Linked DNA regions of Homo sapiens: regions 2 and 3 are each linked to region 1. Evidence: promoter capture Hi-C in 16 types of primary human blood cells and fetal thymus (Javierre and others, 2016). All regions are on one chromosome and are shown on one strand. Each heading gives the region's core, a stretch centred on a gene start or on the middle of the fragment in contact. The rest is flanking DNA. Distances are from core to core; before and after follow the strand shown. Region 1 holds the start of ST3GAL3-AS1 (ST3GAL3 antisense RNA 1). Region 2 overlaps PTPRF (protein tyrosine phosphatase receptor type F). Region 3 overlaps ST3GAL3 (ST3 beta-galactoside alpha-2,3-sialyltransferase 3).

Region 1 (2,973 bases), core at 65-2,564:
TTAAAGTGGCTGCATAAACTCTCATTTAGATGTTTATTTGAACATTTAGTTTAAAATTCCTTTCCCTTTTTAACTTTTCATTTTGAAATAACTTCTTATTTACAAAAGAGTTGTAGAAATATTACAAAGAACTCCCATATGTCCCCTTCAGCTAGCTTATTGTGATGTCTGTCAGATTTCTCAACTTCAAAGTTACTCTGTTCCCCTCTGTTAATAATTAGTGAGGAAATAGTTTAAAACTATTTTATATCTTATTTTTTATTTATTTATTTATAAGAGATAGGGTCTTGCTCTGTCACTCAGGCTGGAGTGCGGTGGCATGATCTTAGCTCATTGCAGCCTCTAACTCCTGGGCTCAAGTAATCCTCCCTCCTCAGCCTCCCAAGTAGCTGGGACTACAGGCACATGCCACTATGCCCAGCTAATCTTAAAATTTTTTCTAGAGGTGGAATTTTGCTGTGTTGCCCAGGCTGGTCTTGAACTCTTGGCCTCATGTGATCCTCCTACCTTGGCCTCCCAAAGTGCTAGTATTACAGGCATGGGCTACTGTGCCTGGCCTATATCCCATTTCTTTTTCTTTTCTTGAGATAGAGTCTTGTTTTCTTGTTCAGGCTGGAGTGCAGTGGCACGATCTTGGCTCACTGCAGCCTCCGCCTGCCGAGTTCAAGCAATTCTTCTGCCTCAGCCACACAAGTAGCTGAGATTACAGGTGGGTGCCACCATGCCTGGCTAATTTTTGTATTTTTAGTAATATGGGGTTTCCCCATGTTGGCCAGGCTGGTCTCGAACTCCTGACCTCAAATGATCCGCCTGCCTCGGCCTCCCAAAGTGCTGGGATTACAGGTGTAAGCCATTGTTTCTGGCCCTGTATCCCATTTCTTGTAAAACTTGTATGCATTAATTTTAGCATCCATTGATGTTTCTTGGGTGAATTATTACTATAATGGTTCCTAAATGGTGATTTTCTAATTACATTATTCCTTCTATTTTCATCAGCTGTCGTTTCACTCTGAGAGCTTTCTCCCCCTTTATTAGATTCTTATTTAATGGATTATAATCTGTTATTATCAGTCTTTATCTTGATGCTGAATTGCTCCAGATCTGACCAGTGGGAGCTCCTCAGGCTGATTCCTTTTTCCTTTTGACCTGTCCTCACTCTGAGCATTTTCCCATTTTCAGGCACAACAAGGTGGCCCAGACTTACCTTACGCCTTCTCTGCCCCAGCCTTGGAGTCAGCCATTCTTCCAAGGAGACCTGCTTCCTTTTTTTTTTTTAAGCAATTGTTTATTACACTCCTGCTATATGCTATAAGATGATGAGCAAAACCAGACACAATTTCAGCCCTGGAAGGAGAAAAGGGAGGTCGATATTAATCAAGTAATAACATTAATGGGGGCATTTCTCAAGTGAGAGAAGTGCACTAAGGAAAGAAATGTGATTCTATGGTAGGGTAATAAAAGATCCTTGACTGGGGAGGGGCAGCATACCAGTAATTAACTGATCTGAAGAATCAGTAGAAATTAACTTGGTAAAAAGTGAAAGTGGATGGCTGAGTGGGACCAGCATTCAGAAGGCAGGTGCCTGCAGAGAAAGCCATCAGTTTTAACAAGAAATGCTGTATCAGAGATGAAACTAAACCTATTCCTCATCTTTTCTTCTTGCTTCAAACATAACTTTGAAAAATCATTTATGCTGTCTTTAGCCTCATCCCTTCCCCAAACTTCACATTGTTCTGGGTTTTAGGTGTCTCAAAAATTTTTTTTTTCTCCCGGAAGACCCATGACTCCTCTTGAATATTAAGTGCCTTTTTCTATCTGTGTCCTAAACCTTTTTTAAAAAAATAATTTCAACTTTTATTTTCAATTCAGTGATACATGTTCAGGTTTGTTACATGGGTATTGTGTGATGCTGAGATTTGGAGTATGATTGATCCTGTCACCCATGTACTCAGCATAGTACCCAACAGTTCATTTTTCAACCCTTGCGCCTTCACCCCTCATCCCCATCTAGTAGTCTCCAGTGTCTGTTATTGCCATCTGTGTGTCCGTAAGTACCCAATGTTTAGCTGCCACTTACAAGTAAGAACATGTGGTATTTGGTTTTCTGTTCCTGCGTTAATTTGCTTAGGATGATGGCCTCCAGCAGCAACCATGTTGCTGCAAAGACCTGAATTCATTCTTTTTTTATGGCTGCACCCTGCTTCTTGTTAGTGGAGAATAGTATTTCAAAACCAAGATCTACGGAGGTTATCGTGAGCTGAAATCGCACCATTGCACTCCAGCCTGGGCAACAAGAGCGAAACTCCTTCTCAGAAAACAAAAACAAAAACAAAAACACCATCAAAATCTAGGTACTAGATATGCTTCATGCTGTTGAGATATGACCACTGCCAGGGTCTTTCTGTGGGCAGAGCTAAAGAGTTATATGTTGGGGGGGTGGGCACAGTGGCGCACGCCTGTAATCCCAGCACTTTGGGAGGCCAAGGCAGGAGGATCATTTGAGTCTAGGAGTTTGATACCAACCTGGGCCACATAGCAAGACCCTGTTGCCACAAAAAGTTAAAAAAATTTTAGTAGCTGGGCGTGGTGACACGTGCCTATGGTCCTACCTACTTGGGAAGCTGAGATGGGAGGATCACTTGAGCCCAGGAGGTCGAGGTTGCAGTGAGGTATGATCACGCCACTGCACTCTGGTCTGAATGACAGAAACTGTTTAAAAAAAATTATATGTGTGTATACACACAAATGTACACACACTATCCTCACTATATTTATTTTTATGTCTTTGTATATATAACACACATATATACACATATGTATACACACATATGTACATATACACACACACACATATATATTTCTGTATTATTGTTCGTTTTGAGACAGAGTCTCTCTTTGTCGCCCAGGCTGGAGTGCAGTTGCATGTTCTCAGCTCACTGCAGCCTTCACTGCCTAGGCTCAAGTGCTCCTCCC
Region 2 (2,848 bases), core at 241-2,740, 190 kb before region 1:
GTCATGTTGTCCAGGCTGCTCTTGAACTCCTGGCTCAAGTGATCCACCTGCCTTGGCCTCCCAAAGTGCCGGGATTACAGGGGTGAGCCACTGTGACTGGCCAGCAGTGTGATTTCTAACTTGGGTCCTGAACCATTCAGGCCCTTTCTGAGTAGCTTTCTAGTCAACCTTCCAGATGTCAGCTCTGGCTCTGTTCTGGGGGTGTATCTGGTTGTCCTGGTTGTTCTGGGCTCTGTCCCAGTGTGAGTGTAGAGTGGGTTCTGGGAGCTGCAGTTGGTGAATCTGAGTCTTTATTTGGTTGCCTGATAGGTTGTTTTGAGGTCAGTTTGATCCCAGACTGACGTGGTTCAAAGTTACTGTTTGGCTTTTCTAGGATCCTGCCCTCATGCTGTTCTGTGTGCCTCAGGGTCTTTGCAAATGTTTAGTCTTCTAAAATGGCCCCTGGCCACTTTGGGTACACACCTCTTTCCAGGTGTGGCTTCTGCTCCATGTAGGGCCTGTCTCAGTCTCCAAGCACGAGACCCTGCTGTGGCTGGGTGTGGCAGCAGCGCCTGGCCAGCTTGGGGGGCCTTTCCCATTACCCAGTTCCCTGCCTTGGACTCTGCCCCTCTGCCCAGGGTCTCTGCACAATGGTGCAGCCAAAAACCTCACTTGAATACTGTGAGGCCCTGCGGGCATCTCTAGACAAATGGGCCTTTAAGTTTGGGGCCTGGAAGCTGGTTTGTCTGGCCAGACCTGCTGGGCAGCCTGTATGCTGGGAGCAGCAGCTGCTGGAAACTCAGCTTGGGGAGCGGGGAGGGAAGCATGCAGAGAGGGCTGCGGGTTCTGGTGCAGGTAGGTGGGGCAGTGGAGGCTGGGTCGCCAAGCTGGCGAGGGCCATCTTGGGTCAGTTGGGATGGCCTTCAGTCGGTGAGAGTACCCCCATATTGGCAGAGGTGGTTAGTGCAACTTGAGGGTAATTCCCAGGTGCAGAGGTGTGTCCTTGATTTCATGATGAGGGTCAGTCTTGGGCCGGTGAGGACATTCCCACGCACCACCCTCCCACTGTGGTTTCTTTGTGTCCGTTATAGGAGGAGCCAAGGTGGCAGAGTGGTGTGGGGTGGGGATCACTGTGCATGTGGGGGCTTGAGGTGAGAAGCCTGCTGCAAGGTGCAGCTTGCGTCGAGTAGGCCAAACAGCTGAGCTTCCGTGAAGTGGTGATGAGGTGGTATGGGTGTGTCTGACCCCCACCCCCACCCAGGATGGTACCCACGCTGGTGGGGACTCAATAATGGCTCTAGAAGGAAGGGGCTGGGCTCTGTCGCTGCATGTGTGCCAGCGGAGGAGGCATCCAGGGGCACGCCTTCATTTTAAAAATTATAGAGTAGAGAAAGTCAAAAATAAATATTGCTTCTGAAGCTTCTTTGAAGACTGGCATGTATGTTGGGGTGTGTTCTTCCAGGCTGGGCTGTTTTCTTTGAACTCATTCATGCGTTCATCCACTCATTCAGTGTATGCTGACTGAGCACCTACTATGTGCCAGCTGTCAGCCAGGCGCTGGGGATACGGAAATGAGCTGGGCAGCCACAGTCCATGCTCCTATCAAGCTTATGGTAGTGACTCAGTAATTGTAAAAATATATAAATAGTCATGTTTGTGGTCACGGCTCCAAGCCAAGGTCCAGGCAGGTAGTCTGGGACATTGTGGAAGGCTTCCCTGAGAAAGTGCCACTGGACTTGAGATCCGAGGGTAAGTTGGCCAGAAGAGCATGGGTAGCCTGTGCCAGGCAGTGGCATTCAGCACTGGCAAGGCTGGGAGACAGGAAGAAATTTGGCACATTTGAGGATCAGAAGAGGAAGTTCCCGTTCTGGCAGGAGGAGAGCATGGGCAGGTAGGGCTGCAGAGGTGGGAGGGGCCGACTCTGCTTGGCTCTGGGGTCATGCTGAGGAGCTGGGCCACAGAGTCTACTGCTGAGGTCAGGGACTTGGTCTGTGTGGCTCACAGCTATATGGCTGGTGCCTGGAAGGACGCCCAGCACATAGTAGGTGCTTAGGGAGTATCAAAATGAATGAGCGAGGGAGTGAAGGGAAAAGATGGGCATTTTTACCAGATGGGGATGGTTCTACATGAACATTTCCATAACCTGCTTTTTTTTCTGCATAAACAGCAAATTTTTAATGTCTTTCTGTGTCAATACATATGCTGTTGTGATGAAATTCTTGATGTTTTCTCATGCTTTCCTTTCTGTCCAGGAAGGAGTGGAGGCCCTGGTGCCCGGCCCTTGGTGCTGAGTATCCAGCAAGAGTGACCGGGGTGAAGAAGCAAAGACTCGGTGAGTGTGCCCCACAGAGTGGCCAGGAGCAGGGGTGCACAGGGGTCCTATGGACCAGGCTGAGCAGCTTGGATTTGATGCAGGGTCAGTGGAGAGCTATAGAGGGGGTGTCAGCAGGGGGCATGACATGATCCAGTGTGCACTGGTGAGAGATTGTGGAGGCCTGGACCAGGGAGGCAGTGACAGAAGTGGAGAGAAGGGATGTGAGTGCTATTTAGGGAGGTAGAGTAGACAGGACGTGGTGAAGGATTGAATGTGGGGCATGAAGGAGGGGAGGTGTCAAGGATGGTGCCTGAGTTTCTGGCTGGAGTGGATGATAGAGGTGGATGGGGAATGACATACAGCTCGTCAGCTACTGTAGGTGTGAAATAGGCTTCCGGGTGATGTCCTGGGACTTACACCAGGATCTTTCTTCTGCTTCTCCATTCGCCACGTTTCTGTAGAAAAGACTGTTCCCATCGACTGTAGGTTGTCGTAGAAAGAGCTTGGTGCCTGCAGGATCTGGGCATGTCCTCTGCATCTCTTTGATGTCCCCTT
Region 3 (2,892 bases), core at 218-2,717, 200 kb after region 1:
AAGAGCACCAGAGAGGTGGCATTGCCGGATCCAAGAGAGCTACACCCCAGGGCTGACTTTCTTGTTTACTTTTTTATGATGGAAATTGTCAAGCATATTACGAGTACAGAGGATAATATCATGAACTCCCACGTTCCTGCCCCCCACCTTCCACAGGCATCAACAGGCGGCCAACATTGTTCCATCTCTTCTTTGTCTCATGCTCCCACTCCACTGATTCAAACATGTCTCAGATACCATATATCCCTCCAACCATAAATACTTCATTCAGGCCGGGCGTGGTGGCTCACGCCTGTAATCTCAGCACTTTGGGAGGCCGATGCAGGTGGATCACCTGAGGTCGGGAGTTCGAGACTAGCCTGCCCAACATGGCGAAATCCTGTCTCTACTAAAAATACAAATTAGCCAGTGGTGGTGCGTGCCTGTAATCCCAGCTACTCAGGAGGCTGAGGCAGGAGAATTGCTTGAACCCGGGAGGCAGAGGTTGTAGTGAGCCAAGATCGCACCATTGCACTCCAGCCTGGGCAACAAGAGTAAAACTCCATCTCAAAAACAAAAACCAAACCAAAACAAAAAACTTCATTCATTTTCTCTAAAAGATAAGGACTATTTTTTAAATTATTACACCTAAAAACATGAACAGTAATTCCTTAATATCATCAAATGTCCAGTCCTCTGCTGACCTTTTAACCCTCAATGACTCCTAGTGGGTGCTGTTGACCCTGACCCATCAAATTCGTTACTACTTCTCCAGAGGAGTGATGAGGACGAGGGATAAGTAAAGAGGCAAACGAGTTTCCACATCTGCTTGAATCCTGGCCTTGTCTTTCCTCCAAGTCTCTGTTTTCCCTGTAAAACCTAATTTCATTCAACAAATATTGAGGCACCTACTCTGTGCCTAACAGTCCCTACCCTCAAAGAGAGACAGTGAGCCAGATGCTTAAGTCTTCAAAGAATGGGGATGAGTCGCCCAGGGATCTGCAATGAGGAGGGGCAAGTGCAGATGGCAGAGTATAATGACAGGAGCCTTGAAGGGGCCGGAGGGCTTTAGGGAGTCTGAGGGACAACGGGGTGTAAGGAAGACGCTTCCCGCCTTCAGAGGCTGTGGAGTGTGGAATGTGAGGGAAGAAACGGTCACCACTTGAGAGGGGGTATGGGGGCACTCTCCTTCAGGGCAGCTGGGTTTGTGATTAGCACAAGAGGTTGAAGGGAATGCTCAGAGAAGAGGAATATTGGGAATTTGGCTGATGACTGCGGGAATTTGGCTGATGACTACCTGAGTTTCAGATGTAAAAGATTTGGAAGGTGGAGAAGGTTGACTGGATCAGAATAAGGGCTAGACAGAGCAAGCCATAAGTTCTTTGTAAAAAATTCATTTATTTATTATTTTTCAAAAGATGGGGTTTCTATATGTTGCCCAGGTGGACTAAGCTCAAGTGATCCTCCTGCCTCAGCCTCCCAAGTAGTTGGGACTACAGGCACAGGGCACTGCATCCAGCTCACTTCTCAGCACCACTAAATAGTGGCTGTTAACAGTTATTGGCCGGGCACGATGGCTCACACCTGTAATCCCAACACTTTGGGAGGCTGAGGCTGGTGGATCACAAGGTCAGGAGATAGAGACCATCCTGGCCAACATGGTGAAACCCCATCTCTACTACAAATACAAAAAATTAGCCAGGTGTGGTGGCAGGCACCTGTAGTTCCAGCTACTCAGATGACTGAGGCAGGAGAATCCCTTGAACCCGGGGGGCGGAGGTTGCAGTGAGCCAAGATCGTGCCACTGCACTCCAGCCTGGGCAACAGAGCAAGACACCATCTGAAAAAAAAAACAAAAACATTTATGGTGGTCCGGGCACGGTGGCTCATGCCTGTAATCCCAGCACTTTGGGAGGCTGAGGCAGGTGGATCACCTGAGGTCAGGAGTTCAAAACCAGCCTGACCAACATGGTGAAACCCCCATCTCTACTAAAAATACAAAATTAGCTGGGTGTGGTGGTGCACTCCTGTAGTCCCAGCTACTCAGGTGGCTGAGGCAGGAGAATCGCTTGAACCTGGGAGGCAGAGGTTGCAGTGAGCTGAGATCACACCACTGCACACCAGCCTGGGCAACAAGAGCGAAACTCTGTCTCAAAAATAAATAAATAGATAAAAAATAAACAGTTATGGTGAAGCTCAATGCTGACAAACGCAACAGAGAGGTCACTTGGGGACAAACTCTGATAAGGCTGCTGTCATTCAGCCCTTCATTCATTAAATCAAGCCTTTTTCATCAAAGTTTTCTGGTGAGAGTCCTGGGGTTAGGAAAGGACCCTATCCCAGGTACAGTCTTCCCCAGAAGCCTCTTCTAGTAATTTTGAAATATATGACATTATTATTAACTATAGTCAAATGTGCTCACCATAAAAAATTGGTAAGTAGGTGAGGTTGGCTTGATTTAATTATTCCACAATGTATACATCTATCAAAACATCACATTCTACCCCAAAAATATGTACAATTCTTTCAATTAAAAAATTAGTTTTAATTATTATTTTTTTTTTTTGAGACAGAATCTCTCTCTGTTGCCCAGGCTGGAGTGCAGTGGCGCGATCTCGGCTCACTGCAACCTCTGCCTCCCGGGTTCAAGCGATTCTCCTGCCTCAGCCTCCTGAGTAGCTGGGATTATAGGCGCTACCATCACACCCAGCTAATTTTTGTATTTTTAGTAGAAACAGGGTTTCACCATGTTGGTCAGGCTGGTTTGAACTCCTGACCTCGTGATCCACCCGCCTCGGCCTCCCAAAGTGCTGGGATTACAGGCGTGAGCCACCGCGCCTGGCCTATTTTTAATTTTCTAAAAAAGATTTGCCATCTCTCCGCAGGCCCCATAGCTCCTCTGATCTGGGAGGC

What was found. Contacts are between HindIII fragments. The CHiCAGO score rates a contact against its expected background, and 5 or more counts as called.
Region 2: a contact is called between a fragment that was not itself captured here and the fragment with the promoter of ST3GAL3-AS1 in region 1, in 2 of 17 cell types (megakaryocytes and M1 macrophages). The highest score is 8.0, in megakaryocytes.
Region 3: a fragment that was not itself captured here is called in contact with the fragment with the promoter of ST3GAL3-AS1 in region 1 in 1 of 17 cell types (endothelial precursors); the score reaches 5.3 in endothelial precursors.

What each region holds. Positions count from the first base shown.
Region 1 is chr1:43,726,029-43,729,001 of GRCh38, forward strand. It overlaps ST3GAL3-AS1 (ST3GAL3 antisense RNA 1), which reads right to left and starts at 1,315. Exons shown (of 4, transcript NR_125986.1): 1 at 1,205-1,315. The region is part of intron 1 of ST3GAL3 (ST3 beta-galactoside alpha-2,3-sialyltransferase 3); the gene reads left to right. The HindIII fragment of the contact is 15,149 bases long and covers 1-2,973 here.
Region 2 is chr1:43,535,967-43,538,814 of GRCh38, forward strand. PTPRF (protein tyrosine phosphatase receptor type F) reads left to right here. Exons shown (of 34, transcript NM_002840.5): 2 at 2,232-2,311. Among named protein-coding and RNA genes, the nearest start is that of PTPRF, 6.5 kb to the left of the region's middle. The HindIII fragment of the contact is 188 bases long and covers 1,397-1,584 here.
Region 3 is chr1:43,926,778-43,929,669 of GRCh38, forward strand. All of the region lies in intron 11 of ST3GAL3 (ST3 beta-galactoside alpha-2,3-sialyltransferase 3), which reads left to right. Among named protein-coding and RNA genes, the nearest start is that of ARTN, 5.6 kb to the right of the region's middle. RefSeq lists an enhancer at 2,820-2,892. The HindIII fragment of the contact is 3,253 bases long and covers 1-2,892 here.